Linked DNA regions of Homo sapiens: all the other regions are linked to region 1. The links are contacts of gene promoters, found by promoter capture Hi-C in blood cells and fetal thymus (Javierre and others, 2016). All regions are on one chromosome and are shown on one strand. The core of a region is centred on a gene start or on the middle of the fragment in contact, and the rest is flanking DNA. Distances in the headings are between cores, read along the strand shown.

Region 1 (5,005 bases), core at 1,532-4,031:
GCTGGGATTACAGGCATATGCCACTGCACCCGGCCAAGTATTTTCATTTTTAAACTCACTGTCTACCTAATCTTACCCAGTTTAATAGCTTGAAATATTTCTCTCTAAATTTGAGACTCATAGCACCATTCACCAACTCTACATCTTCACTTGTGTATGTCCCTTGGACATCTCATATTTAATATCTCAAAAACCAAACTCTTGTTTTTCACTCCCCAAGCTGGCTCCACCCTATTTCAGTAAATGGCAATTCCATCCTTCCAAAAACCTTGATTTTGATCTGTCCCTCATGTCTTACATCCAATCTATCAGCAACTGTTACCAGTTTTACCTTCGAAATATATCCAGAATACAACTGCTTCCCATCACCTCTGTAGACCCCACCTTGGCCAAAGCCAACATCATCTTTCACCAGGATTATCACAATAGTGTCTCAACTATTTCCCTGCTTCCACCCTCAGCGCCTACAGTCTACTAAGCTAGCCTTTTGAAAAGGAAAGGCAGATTGTGTTACGTCTCTGCTTAAACCCCTACACTGACTTCTCATCTCATTCTAAATAAAATCCAAAGCTCTTTGCATGGAATTCAAAGCTCAACACAGTTTTGTTCTAGATATCTTTGAATTTGTCTCATAACACACTCTCCTCTCTCATTTATTCAGCTCCAGCCACAGGGGTTCCCTAGAATATGCCAGGCACTTTATCTAATTAGCATTCCATCCCACCACACTCTCTAGTCACCTACTGTGCTTTATTTTTCGAAATAGCACCTATCATTACCTAACATACTTATTTTTTGTCTTATCCCACTAGAATATGTCAGGGGGACAAGAATATCTCATGCTGCCACCCATGAGAATAGGGATGTCATCTGTCTTCTTCACTGTTTTTCCCCAGCACCTAGCACAGAGCTCTTGTATGTAACAATAATTTCTAAGTAGGAAATTCAAAGGATTTTTTCCACTTCATTAAAAACAAACAAACAGATGCAGTGGCTCACACCTGTAATCCTAGCACTTTGGGAGGCCGAGGCGGGCAAATCACTTACTTGAGGTGAGAAGTTCAAGACCAGCCTGGCGAACATGACAAAACCCCATCTCTACCAAAAATACAAAAATTAGCTGGGTGTGGTGGTGTGTCCCTGTAGTCCCAGCTACTCAGGAGGCTGAGGCAGCAGAATCGCTTGAACCCAGGAGGCAGACTGCAGTAAGCCAAGATTGTGCCACTGAACTCCAGCCTGGGTGACAGAGAAAGACCCTGTCTCCAAAAAACAAAAACAAAAACAAAGAAACAAAAAAACCTATTCTAGTTACTCAGACACACAGTCTTAAAATAACAAAAATACTTATAGAATGAAGCTAGATTCCACAGCATCGATCAGGAATTTCCAGTGTAGGAAATGATGAACTACCACATTCAAACATACAGGCTTTACAGGTGCATCAGAATCACAAGCACGTGGCAGGGTTCATGTGCCCAATTAAGTGAATATTCCTGCTACATGTTCAGCAGCTTATAAACAGATGGTGACCCAGACCAGACTGCCTTGATGAGTCTGCTTGGAAAAAAGGCATTACATCACTGATTGGAGAACCTCAAAGCATATGTCCGGGCAGGTGACACACACACAGCTCAGGCTGTGATTGCTAAACCACTCCCACAGCCAAATAAGGAAACCCATCTCATGACCAGCTCTCAGGGGAATTCTCCGAGTCTGACAGTCACCTCTAACTCCTCTGCCAGTTAAAATTAAGGGGTCTGTGATCAGTGATGTTACACTCCTCAAATGTGCATTTTTTTTTGAGGCGGAGTCTTGCTCTGTTGCCCAGGCTGGAGTGCAGTGGTGTGATCTCGGCTCACTGCCACCTCCACCTCCCTGGTTCAAACGATTCTCCTGCCTCAGCCTCCCGAGGAGCTGGGACTACAGGCGCCCACTACCATGCCTGGCTAATTTTTGTATTTTTAGTAGAGACGGGGTTTCACCATGTTGGCCAGGCTGGTCTTCAACTCCTGACCTCAGGTGATCCACCCGCGTCGGCCTCCCAAAGTGTTGGGATTACAGGCGTGAGCCACCGTACCCCGCCTCAAATGTGCATTTGTGATACCTTTTCGTAAATGTTTATTCAAATATTTATTCACGAATAAAGGAAGAAAACGGGATTTGTTTAAATTCAATTTCTAGGTCCAAGACAACCTACTACGGCTGTCCCTAATACGGACCTCCGGGTTGTCCTCAGTGCCGCTTCCAACAGTGTCCTCAAACACCCTCCCCTCCCATAATGAGCCCCCAACCTGTCACCACTCCGAGCAATACTCCCCAAACTGTCAACGCCCTAAACAGCTCCCTTGTTATCGCCAAGCTCTAGAAAGCCCTCCTTATGTCATTCTTACCCCTAAAGACCGTTCTTGTCACCAATTCCCCAGACTTCCCCTATGAACCGCTCTAAGAGCCCTCAGCTATCAGCCACACCCCCAAACAGCCCTCAGTAAGAGCCCTACACTATCAGCCAGACGTTTTCCGCCACCAACGCTCCCGAGACCCCACTCCTGTCACCAGTTCCCCGAACATTCCTGCGAGCAATGTCGCAGATACTGCTCACAGACGTCCCCATAACCAACTTCTTCGCCACCGCAGCCCAGGAGCCCCCAAAGGGGTCCTCCGCGGCCCCGCCCCTTTACGTGCGGCCCCGCCCCTTGGCGTGGCGCCCTGACAAATGGCGCCGGAAGCCCCGCCCCCGGCCGGTTGCTAGGCTCCGACAGCCGGAAGTCCCGCCTGCCGTGTAGTCGCCGCCGTCGCTGCCGCTGCCGCTGCCGCCGTCGTTGTTGTTGTGCTCGGTGCGCTGAGCTCCGCGGCTCCGCGAGCCGGTTCCGTCCCCTTCCCGCCGCCGCCATGAAGTGGATGTTCAAGGAGGACCACTCGCTGGGTAAGCACTTGGTCGTCGGCCCGGCTGCTGGGGGCTGGGGCGGCGGGTGGGCCCCCTCCCCCACTCGGGCGGCCCTGGGCCGAGTGGAGCGGGGCGGATGCCCTGCTGCGGGCTGGAGTCGCCCATGCCCTGGTGCCTCGGGCAGCGGCCCCCTGACCCCATGTCACCCTCCGCGGGCCTTGCTGGGAGCTAGTAGGGGACAGGACCGCGGCCCCGGGGACGCCGGAACCAGGGCCTGGGTTGTACGCAGGGCGCAGGAGGAGGAGGGCCGGGGGCCGGGAACCGACCGGTGGGCAGGCGCGGCCGTCAGCCCCGTTTGTTTCTCCCACAGAACACAGATGCGTGGAGTCCGCGAAGATTCGAGCGAAATATCCCGACAGGGTTCCGGTGAGTGGACTCTCCGCCCCCTCACCTCGCTGTCACCTCTGTCGTCTGGGACCCGTGATAGGCCCCAGGCCATTCAACAGTTGACAAGTTGAGGTTCCAGTCCCAGTTACAGTAGCTGACGGGCCAGACCGGGATGAGGCCGCCCAGGGCCGGGGCGTGAGGGGCTCGGGCTGGTGCTGTTCAGGGTGCCTCAGTGCTGAATCTCCCGATCTAGGCCAGCGAGCCGTCTGCAGCCTCGGGGCTCCCTGGCCAATTATGTAAGGAACGATGTTCTAGGACAGGGCAACAGGTCACTGCCACTTTTGGGAATGGTGGTGGAGGGAGACTGTCATTTTGGTCTTGGAAGTGGTACTTGAGTCTCAGGACGTTCATCTTTTACTTTGTCTCCATCTTTACCTAACTTCTAGCTCCGTTATCTCACCTTGACCCTGTCATCCTTGCCTGACCAAAATAATGTGAAAAGCCGCTGAAAACCCCTTCTGCCATATTTTCTTCTTAGTCAATAATAAATATAATGTTATATTTCTTCCATGGTTGGGGAGATAGTTTTGTAATCGTTATTAATTTTTAATGGACATTAAGGCCTGTTATTGTAGCTCTTTGCTTGTGAATAATTTGTCTGGGGAAAGGAGTAGGAGGGACGGATTTGAAACTTGTTCAGAGAGGAGCAACAGGCCAAATGAAGAACTTGGTTCTTGGCTGGCTAAAATTCCAGGCATTCCAATTAGTCCATCCATTCTTGTCTCCTGTGTTCCTTGGGAACACAGTAGTGTTTCCTGTAGTGTGAAGGTGGATCCATTCTGGGGTCCTGGAGTAACGGGCCATGGATGAAACCCTCCCCAGATATTCTTAGGTCTGCCCAGATAAAATGTGGAAAAGCTTAGTGGTAAGGGCTGCATTTCTCTTACATAATTGACCACAGAAAAGCACTTACTGTTTCCCTGTAACACATTTATATCAATTCTTAACCTCCAGAGCGTGTGGTTTATTAAGCCAAAGACATATTTTCTCCTGCTATGCAGTTCCCCACCCACCTCCTTGCCCACACTCTGTTCATCAGCTCCTCAGCCATGTGAGGCCAGAGCCTCGCTTTAGGAAACACAGTCCTGACCTCTCTTTACTTTCCCAGGTGATTGTGGAAAAGGTCTCAGGCTCTCAGATTGTTGACATTGACAAACGGAAGTACTTGGTTCCATCTGATATCACTGTGGCTCAGTTCATGTGGATCATCAGGAAAAGGATCCAGCTTCCTTCTGAAAAGGCGATCTTCCTGTTTGTGGATAAGACAGTCCCACAGTCCAGGTGAGAGGTGTTTACTAGATGGGCCCTCTGGTATTAGACATCTGGTTGGCTGCTTACGGAACTCCAAAACTTTGGAAGTCTGAAAACTCTTAGGGGTCCTGACTAGAAATCTGGATTTTATGCTCCCTGACATCAGGGGCTCCAGGAAAATAATGGCTGCAATACATAAGAGTGCATTTTGGATTCAGAAAATAGAACAAGGCCTGGACTTTTAAAAAAATGATGAAACTCAGCCTAAGATCTCCAAGAATCTTTTAAAACGGTTGAGAACTTATTTAGTCTTAAGCTATAGGTAGAACTGAGGCCTGAAATGAGGTTTTCTTCCCTGAAGGCAGTCCTGGCATGCTCCTCCACTGGGAGCCTGTGGGCCCTGCTGAGGCTCACTCAGTTAAT
Region 2 (5,005 bases), core at 1,576-4,075, 1.7 Mb after region 1:
GTGCATATTCTATTTGCTGATCTACCAGCTGTTTTAAGGGACTGGTCAGTGGCAGAATTAACATATTTGCCATACCTACAAAATTCACAAGTACCTAGACTTCATTTTCCATTTTCCTACAAAACTCAAACTCTGTTTTTGTGACCTATTACTCACCGTAATCCTACCCAGCATCTTTCTCATTGGAATCTTGAGTAACATTTACCCAAAGATTACATTAGTTCCATTCTTCTTCCTTTCATTATCAAGTCATTATTAGATGGAGATGATTTGAATAGCCTAGGTGCCTGTTTTTTGTCTTGTAGTCCTTCCTTGGTGTTAACTCTGAAATTAATTTATCTCTTTTTTTATTTTTATTTATTTATTTTTTGAGATGGACTCTCACTCTGTCGCCCAGGCTAGAGTGCAGTGGCACAATCTCGGCTCCCTGCAACCTCCACCTCCCGGGTTCAAGCGATTCTCCTGTCTCAGCCACCCAAGTAGCTGGGACTACAGGTGCCCACCAACACGCCCGGCTAATTTTTGTAGTTTTAGTAGACACAGGGTTTCACCATATTGGCCAGGCTGGTCTCAAACTCCTGACTTCAAATGATCCACCCACCTTGGCCTCCCAAAGTGCTGGGATTATAGGCGTGAGTCACCATGCCCTGCTAAAATTAATTGATTTCTTCCAAGTGTGTGCAGTCATGTTTTACTTCTGTGATCAGACCTATTTAAGAGTTATAAAGATTCCTTCCAATTGTATCTTATGAAAGCCAGTAGGCATTTAATGACCTTCTTTTCTGGAGTCATTGTCTTTATATTTTGTGCCTCATTTTTGGAAAGCCTGTTTTACTTTCCGTGTGTCTTCTTATTTCTAAAGTCTTATTAAACCTACATTATCTAAAATGCCCATTACCTATAAATTTCTCTTCCACTCTGAGATTAAATATCTTTCTCAGTGGTTACCTTTATATTTTTAGAACATTTTATTGTTTAAAAATCACAGTCAAAGCTTCAAAAAACATACACCCCAAAATATCCCAATTTCAGTATCCTACTACCCAGAGGAGAGCACATGGCTGTTCTTCCCCTTCTGGTGCCCACAGCACTAGCGAGGACCCTGCCCTGAAGAGACCACTTGCCCACCCTCCTGCCCACCATATGTTAAGTCACCGTTTCTAATACATTTATTTATTTATTTATTTATTTAGTAAGATGGAGTCTCGCTCTGTTGCCTAGGCTGGAGTACAGTGGTGCAGTCTCGGCGCACCGCAAGCCCTGCCTCCTGGGTTCAAGCAATTCTGTAGCAGCGTCCCGAGGAGCTGGGATTACAGGCACCCACCATCCCATCCAGCTAATTTTTGTATTTTTAATAGAGACGGGGTTTCACCATGTTGGCCAGGCTGGTCTCAAACTCCTGACCTCAGGTGATCCACCCACCTCAGCCTCCAAAAGTGCTGGGATTATAGGTGTGAGCCACTGCTCCCGGGCCCTAATGCTTTTATAATTTAGTTTATATTTGAACTATTTGGAATTTATTTTGTGTCTGTACATAATCTGGAGAGAATTTACTGAATAGCACATGTATCCCCCCAACTGCAATGCCATCCTCGCCATATACCAAATAATCATGTCTATTTTGGTCAATTTCTGAACTGTTTATTCTATTCCTTTATCTAGTTACCTATTTATACACAAATACCAAACTTTTTATTATTATACCCTTAAATAATATTATGAAACTCACTTGGTGAGACCTCCTCTATATTTTCCTACTGTTTCAGAATTTTTCAAGGGTAGTTTCTTTCCTATGCATACTCTAGAATCATATTGTCTATTTCCAAAAAAAAAAAAAAAACAAAAAAACAAAAAACCTGACTGGGCGCAGTGGCTCACAGCTGTAATCCCAGCACTTTGGTGGGCAGAGGCAGGCAGACTATGAGGTCAGGAAATCAAGACCATCCTGACTAACATGGTGAAACCCTGTCTCTACTAAAAATACAAAAAATTAGCTGGATGTGGTGGCACAAGCCTGTAGTCCCAGCTACTAGGGAGGCTGAGGCAGGAGAATCACTTGAACCCAGGAGGCGGAGGTTGCAGTGAGCAGAGATCACGCCACTGCACTCTAGCCTTGTGGCAGTGTGAGACTCTGTTTCAAAAAAAATTAAACAGCAGCAACAACAACAAAAAACCCCTATTATTATTTGATATTTGTATTGAATGAAATATATACATTAACATGCAGGAAATTAGTATCATTATATTGAGCCTTCTAAAGGAGAAAAGAGTCTGTTTTATCTGTTTAGTTTTTTTTTTTTTTTTTTTTGAGATAGCGTTTCACTCTTGTTGCCTAGGCTGGAGCGCAATGGTGTGATCTCAGTTGACCACAACCTCCGCCTCCCGGGTTCAAGCAATTCTCCTGCCTCAGCCTCCTGGGTAGCTGGGATTACAGGCATGCATCACCATGCCCAGCTAATTTTGTATTTTTAGAAGAGATAGGGTTTCTCCATGTTAGTCGGGCTGTTCTCCAACTCCCGACCTCAGGTGATCCGCCTGCCTTGGCCTCCCAAAGTGCGGGGATTACAGGCGTTAGTCACCGCACCTGGCCTAATTTTTATTTTATGTGTTCTTCTCCTCTGTATATCTCTTTGAATTCTATTTTACCTGATAATAATGTTGCTACAGTAATTTTTTTTTTTTGAGACTGAGTCTCACTCTGTTGCCCAGGTTGGAGTGCAGTGGCACTATCTCGGCTCACTGCAACCTCTGCCTCCTGGGTTCAAGCAATTCTCCTGCCTCAGCCTCCCGAATTGCTGGGATTACAGGCACCTGCCACCATGCCCAGCTAATTTTTTGTATTTTTAGTAGAGATGGGGTTTCACCATGTTGGCCAGGCTGGTCTTGAACTCCTGACCTCAGGTGATCCACCCACCTCAGCCTCCCAAAGTGCTGGAATTACAGGCGTGAGCCACCACGCCCGGACAATAAATGTATTTTTAGGAATATTTTTCTTCGTATGTTTCTTTACTTGACTGTCTATTTAGGTATCTAATTTTTCAGGGTTTGTTTAATAAAACTATACTGTCATTGATAATTCATAGCCTAATGAGGAAGGCAACCCAGGACAAAGGGTTCAAAGACACAGGTACATACTAGAGTGTGGGGAGGCATGCAGGCACATCCTAATGCAGGTAATGTTGACTACGTTGTTAAAGGCAAGTAGGAATTAGTCAAGCAAAGAAGAGAGCAAAAGAAACTCCCTGTTGAAGAAGGTCATGGCAAAGCGAGAAGGCATGAGCACTGTGAGTATGATACATAAATCTCTACATCAGAATCTTTTGATCCAGTGTTTAGTTTATGACAAAAGATAAGGCCAGAAACCTATGTACAAACAAGATGATTAAGACCTTTCCTGCCACATCAAGCTGATGGAATTCTACCTCGAAATGTGGAAGGGATACACTAAGAAATATTTAGCTATTAGAACCTGAGGGCCTCTTTGATACCTGTTAAAAGTTGAACAGGTCCCCATTCTTAATAAGGCATCTGGTTCAGTGTAAATTCTTAGAAAATAATTGTCATTTGTGTAAATAATCCAGGAGAAGGCAGAGGTCAGGAAATGTTTTTCTTAGCGGGCCAAATAGTAAATATTTTAGACTTTGCAAGCCAAGAGGTGAAATTGAAAGTATGTAAATACTTGTATAACCATTTAAAATGCAACCATCTAAAAGTATTAAAACATTCATAGATTATAAGCCCTATAAAATTACTAATGGCTAGATTTGACCTGTAGGCTATAGTTTGTGGACTCTTGGCCTAGAGAATGGATATTTAAATTTTTAAGGGAGTATAATGCTTTCATTATGAAAGAAAATGGAAAATAATTCGTTGGCATGTGGAGAAATGAACAATGAGAGAAAATGTTATTTTGGGAAATAAAACCAAGGAGAGAATTGGCATGTTAGTTTGAAATTATTGCTTCTGTAACATGCTAAAAAGCATGACATTTGAGTATAGCACTGAGATGGACAAGGTGCCCTACAAGGCCAAAAATGACTTTTTTGTTTCTGGGAATCAGTAAGGATTTATGAATCTTGAACAAAAAACCATTGCTTTGTTTTTCAGATACTATTCAGTATAAGAAGTGTCCAGATGATCAATATCAGAATAGTCAGAGAATTTACTGTCTTCCAAAGGATGTGAACTTCTTGGCTTTTGAAGGCCCTTTGGGGATGTCTCTGGCCTGCACAGCCCTGCCTCTCTGTCCTTACTGCAGTGGTCCTTGGGGTATTTGTGAAGCAGCAGGAAATCCCCTCGGTTAAAGCCAGTACATGGGCTTTCAGCTGCACCCTGCTGAAAGTCTGGCCTCCGTCACACTGTGCTTCCTCTGCTCTGCCCTATGCATTGGCCACCCCCACACAGCTACGTGGTGACTCCAACAAATAGCATTTGGAGTTGTGTTTACTATGGCTATTTCTATCATTCTGACCAAAACCATCACTGTAGTTCTGGCTCTGAAGGCCAGAATGCCAGGGAGAATAAGATGGTGATTGGTATCAGGATCTCCTAATTTTGCCCTTTTTATATTCTCCCTAATCCAAGTGGAATCTGTCTCCTGATCTGTCAGCTCGGGCTGAGAAACTTTCCTCCCTTCATTGACACAGACACACTCTCTAAGCTTGGATCTGTAGTTCTCACACGCAGTGAGGTTTCAGCACTGTCTTCTACCATGTCCTAGGATACCTGGGCTCCTTGACCCTGGGGAGCTTTACCTTGGCTTTCCTGGCCATGGGTTTGCCTGACACCTTCAATAAGTCAAGTTCTTGATGTTCAGCATGCTGGTGTTCTGCAGTCACCTCCCTCCTTGCCGACCACAGCATCAAGGGGAAGGTCCTGGAAGCCATGGGGTTCTTCTTCATCTTAGCTTTCAGTGCTGAGCTACTTGGCTGCATCTTTGCCCCCATATATTACGTTACTCTTATGAGATATGAATACCTTCCAAGGTCTGAAGATTAAAATAGGT
Region 3 (4,741 bases), core at 1-2,500, 1.3 Mb before region 1:
GTAAGTATATTTTCAAAAATTAAAAAAGAAAATTATGAAACAGCAGGAGTTTTCATTTTCATTTATTTAAGAGACAGTCTCACTCTCTCCCCCAGGCTGGAGTGCAGTGGCACAATCATAGCTCACTGTAACCTCATACTCCTAGGCTCAAGCAATCCTCTCACCTCAGCCTCCCAAGTAGTAGCTGGGACTATAGGTCTATAGGTGCATGCCACCATGCTTGGCTAATTTTTTTTTTTTTTTTTTTTTTGGAGAGACAAGGTCTTGAAATGTTGCCCAGGCTGGTTTCAAACTCCTGGCCTTAAGCAATCCTCTTACCTTGGCCTTGAGCCATGCCACCCAGCCAGGGAACTTTGAAGTAATTTTTTATTATCCATTCCTTCATCTTTCACAGGCAATCAATCACCATTTTCTGTCCATTTTTCTCTGAAATGCATCTCCCTGTTTCTTTTTCTGTTCCCTCTGCCACCCCAGGTATTTGTCACCTCATACTAAATTATTTAAAATTCCTCCTAACAGAGCTTTCCTGATTCCTTGTTCTCTTAAAAAAAAAAATTATTTCTTTTTTCAGAGACAAGGTCTCACTATGTTGCTCAGGCTGGTCTTGAACTCCACCTCAACCTCCCAAGTAGCTGGGACTACAGGTGCCACCACCACATCCAGCACTAGCTCTCTTTCTGTGAATCTACTTTGCATACTACTACTAGATTAATCTTCTAAAAATGTCACTTCTTTCATATCACTTTCTGACTTACAATAAAAATCCTGTGCCCTTTATAAACTGGTCCTACCCAACCAACATAAACTTCTCACTACTCTCTTAAATATGTCTCTGCTCAGGACAGCCCAGTAGTCTCCCATCCCTGGCTCCCCTCACCCGAGTCAGGCACTATTATTATCCCTCTTTTACATAGAGGAAATTGAGGTGTAGAGAGATTAAGTGACCCATTTAAAATATCCTAGCCAGTGAATAGGAAAAGCAAAATTCAAATCTAGATCTGACTCACAGCCCACGCTCTTTTCTATTACCTTCACAGTCGGAGACGACAGGGAGAAAGATTACAGGGAAGGGTGCCAGAGGCATCAAGAATTTATTCTCTACCATGTTCCAGTTTCTCCACACTCTCAAACTCAGTCCTGCTGGAATGTTTCCAAAATGCTACCTAGCTTGAGGAACCTCTTCAGATTCTGATCATATCACTTGAGCTGAGCGATATTCCATGACAGGCCTAAATAACCCTCAAATGAAAGAGTAAATGCAGCAAATAACAGAGAAAGTAAGTGACGGAGCTCACATTTAGGGAGCAGCTATATAACCAAGCATTGAGTGGCAGATAATGGATTTACCAAGAACCTTAGGTTCACAAAGAATTCACAAATTGCCTAGTGTTTCTGTTATCTGTTGCTGCACAACAAACCACCCAAAACTTAGTGACTTAAAACAGCAACGATGACTTATTATTTCACAGAATTTTATAACCTGGGCTGGGCTCAGCTGGGCAGTTCTTCTGCTCCACATGCTATCTACTAGGGCTGGAATATCCACAGTGGTTTTTTCACTCTCATTTCTTGGGACCCTGCCTGTAATGGCTGGAATAGCTGGGGAATGGCCAAGCATTCCTCTTCTATTCCATATGGTCTCTCCTGCAAAGTAGCCAGATTTTTCTACATGACTCAGGGTTCCAAGAGTGGGCATTCCAAGAGAACAAGCTGCAACATGAGAGTGTTACTCAAGCCTCTGTTTGTATTACACTTGCTAATATCTCATGTGCCAGAGCAAGTCACATGCCCAAGCTCACAGTCAATTTTGGAGGAGATAACCAGGGCATGAAGGCCAGATGCATGATTCATTGGGGCCTGGCACATTTGATCATGGTGAGCATGTCTGACAGACTGAGCACACTTTCTGACACCATATGGGATATTATACAGGATTTACATTTATTATTTGCTTATAGTCTATCTCCTCTAACAAGACTATAAGTTCAAAGAGGGCAAGAGCTTTGTTTTGTTTATTCCTATATAACCAGTATTTAGAAGAGTGGCACAGAGTTAAATTGTTAAGTGAGTATTGAGAAAAACATCAGAGATACTGGTTATAGAAGACTGCCAAAGTTTACAGTGCAAAAGAGTCATTATCTAAGTGGAAAAATTAAAGATTCTAGAAACACCGTTGGCACAGCTTTTGCCCTTTCCAGGCCTACAGAGGCTGATGGAGAATGATGTTGTAGCTGGGCCTCTGAGTAGATGAAGGCATCTATTATGAAGAAATCAAATCCATTCTATGCAGCTATTAATGATGATGTAGACCTAGATTTGCTATAAGGAAGTGTGTTAATGATAAATTATTAACTCAAAAGAGCAAATTTCAGAACTTTATGTAGAGTTAAACTCCATTTGCATTTTTTTTTTTTTTGAGATGAAGTCTCACTCTGTCACCCAGGCTAGAGTGCAGTGGCAGGATCTTAGCTCACTGCAACCTCCGCCTCCCAGGTTCAAGTGATTCTCCTACCTCAGCCTCCCAAGCAGCTGGGATTACAGGCACCGACCATCATGCATGGCTAATTTTTTTTTGTATTTTTAGTAGAGATGGGGTTTCCTCATGTTGGCCAAGCTGGTCTCCAACTCCTGACCTTGTGATCAGCCCGCCTCGGCCTCCCAAAGTGCTGGGATTACAGGCGTGAGCCGCAGCGCCGAGCCCATTTGCATATTTTGAAAGCTATGCATACAGATGCCAAAAGATACATCTTTAAAAAACTTTCCGAAAGATTCGCCAGAAACTAGTAGCCAGTGACTACCTTTAAGGAGAGGAACTAGGGTTCACCTAAGAAAAGTGAGGGAGACTTGAAGCTCAGTAACAGGTTCATGGGCTTTATTATACTATTTTCCCTACTCTTGCACAGGGTAGGGATTTTCCATTAAAAAGGGTGTTTTAAAAATATGTCTGGGGCTGGGCACCATGGCTCACGCCTATAATCCTAACACTGTGGGAGGCCAAAGCAGGAGGATCATTTGAGCCCAGAAGTTCAAGGCTTCAGTGAGCTAATGATTGCACCACTGCACTCCAACCTTGGTGACAGAGTGAGACCCTAACTCTTTTAAAAAAATAACAAATTAAAAATGTTAAAATAAGGCTGGGCACAGTGGCTCATGCCTGTAATCCCAGCACCAGCCTGGCCAACAGGATGAAACCCCGTCTCTACTAAAAATACAAAAATTAGCCAGGCGTGGTGGCGGGCACCTCTAATCCCAGCTACTAGGGAGGCTGAGGTGGGAGAATCGCTTGAACCCAGGAGGTGTTGGTTGCAGCAAGCTGAGATCTGGGCAACAAGAGTGAAACTCAGTCTCAATCAATCAATCAATCAATAAAATAAGTCTGGCTGCAGAGTGGAGGATGGAGATGGGAGAAGGTCAAAACTGGAAGGCAAAAAGAGAAATTAGGAAGCTAATGCTGAAATCCCTTAAGAAATACAGCACTTTAGGCCAGGCGCGGTGGTTCACGCCTATAATCCTAGCACTTTGGGAGGCTGAGGCAGGCAGATCACAAAATCGAGACCATCCTTCCTGGCCAACATGGTGAAACCCTGTCTCTACTAAAAATACAAACAAATTAGCTGGGCATGGTGGCATGCGCCTATAGTCCCAGCTGCTTGGGAGGCTGAGGCAGGAGAATCACTTGAACCTGGGAGACGGAGGTTACAGGGAGCCGAGATTGTGCCACTGCACTCCAGCCCGGTGACAGAGTAGGACTCCGTCTCAAAAAAAAAGCACTTTGGGCCAGGGTTAATCTTAGTTTTCTGTATGTGGTACGATTTCAGGTGATTTTAATTTATTTCAATTAATTAATTATTTGTGACAAGGTCCTACTGTTCGGAAGGGTCATGAACTCCTGGGCTCAAGTGATCCTCCAACCTCAGCCTTCCAAGTATCTGGGATTACAGGCACAGGCCACCATGCCCAGCTCTATATTCATTTTTATTTATCTGAATAGTGTCATTTTTCCACAATGATCATGTGTAACTAGAATAATTTTTTAAGCTCATAGTCAGTTTCACACTGCTTCAGTGAGTCAGGATTGGAGACACCCAATAAGCTTCGAAACAGCTTGCTTAGGCTTAGTACAACTGCAAAGTGAACTCAGTGTGAAATAAAATATATCACTTTCTAAAGTTTGAAATTTAGTATCTTAATAAAATTAATGCAATTCTTTTGCCTAAGACTGCTGCAAGCAGGCACACCAACCAATTAGGAACTGGGGTCACAGAAACCTGGCTTGATCCTGACCAGCAATGTGATCTTGGAAAGATCCTTCCCAATGTCTGAGCCTTATTGTCATCTTCCATTTCACTATCATAACTAATTATTCATTTATATAGTAATTACTGAATGTCTCCTATGTGCCAGGCACTTTTCAAGACAATGATAATATAAAAGTAAACTAGGGGCCAGGTGCAGTGGCTCACACCTATAATCCCAGCACTTTGGGAAGCCAAGGCAGGCAGATCACTTGAGTTCAGGAGTTCCAGATAAGCCTGGCCAACACAGTGAAACTCCATCTCTACTAAAAATAGAAAAATTAGTGGGGCATGGTGGCGCTCACCTGTAGTCCCAGCTACTTGGGAGGCTGAGGTATGAGAATCGCTTGAACCTGGGAGGTGAAGGTTGCAGTGAGCCAAGATTGTGCCACTGCATTCCGGACTGGGTGACAGAGCGAGACTGTCTCTCATTTATTTAAAAAAAA

What was found. The method cuts DNA at HindIII sites, captures the fragments that hold promoters and counts their contacts. A CHiCAGO score of 5 or more calls a contact.
Region 2: a fragment that was not itself captured here is called in contact with the fragment with the promoter of GABARAPL2 in region 1 in 2 of 17 cell types (M2 macrophages and fetal thymus); the score reaches 8.3 in M2 macrophages.
Region 3: a fragment that was not itself captured here is called in contact with the fragment with the promoter of GABARAPL2 in region 1 in 2 of 17 cell types (neutrophils and naive CD4 T cells); the score reaches 7.8 in neutrophils.

What each region holds. Positions count from the first base shown.
Region 1 is chr16:75,563,598-75,568,602 of GRCh38, forward strand. It overlaps GABARAPL2 (GABA type A receptor associated protein like 2), which reads left to right and starts at 2,782. Exons shown (of 4, transcript NM_007285.7): 1 at 2,782-2,923; 2 at 3,255-3,310; 3 at 4,440-4,612. The coding sequence starts at 2,890. RefSeq lists a silencer at 2,845-3,254 and an enhancer at 3,244-3,997. The HindIII fragment of the contact is 5,212 bases long and covers 1-4,187 here.
Region 2 is chr16:77,216,291-77,221,295 of GRCh38, forward strand. It overlaps the pseudogene VN2R10P. Among named protein-coding and RNA genes, the nearest start is that of SYCE1L, 19 kb to the left of the region's middle. RefSeq lists an enhancer at 4,186-4,295. The HindIII fragment of the contact is 3,666 bases long and covers 993-4,658 here.
Region 3 is chr16:74,290,260-74,295,000 of GRCh38, forward strand. No RefSeq gene overlaps it. Among named protein-coding and RNA genes, the nearest start is that of PSMD7, 4.2 kb to the right of the region's middle. The HindIII fragment of the contact is 5,681 bases long and covers 1-4,091 here.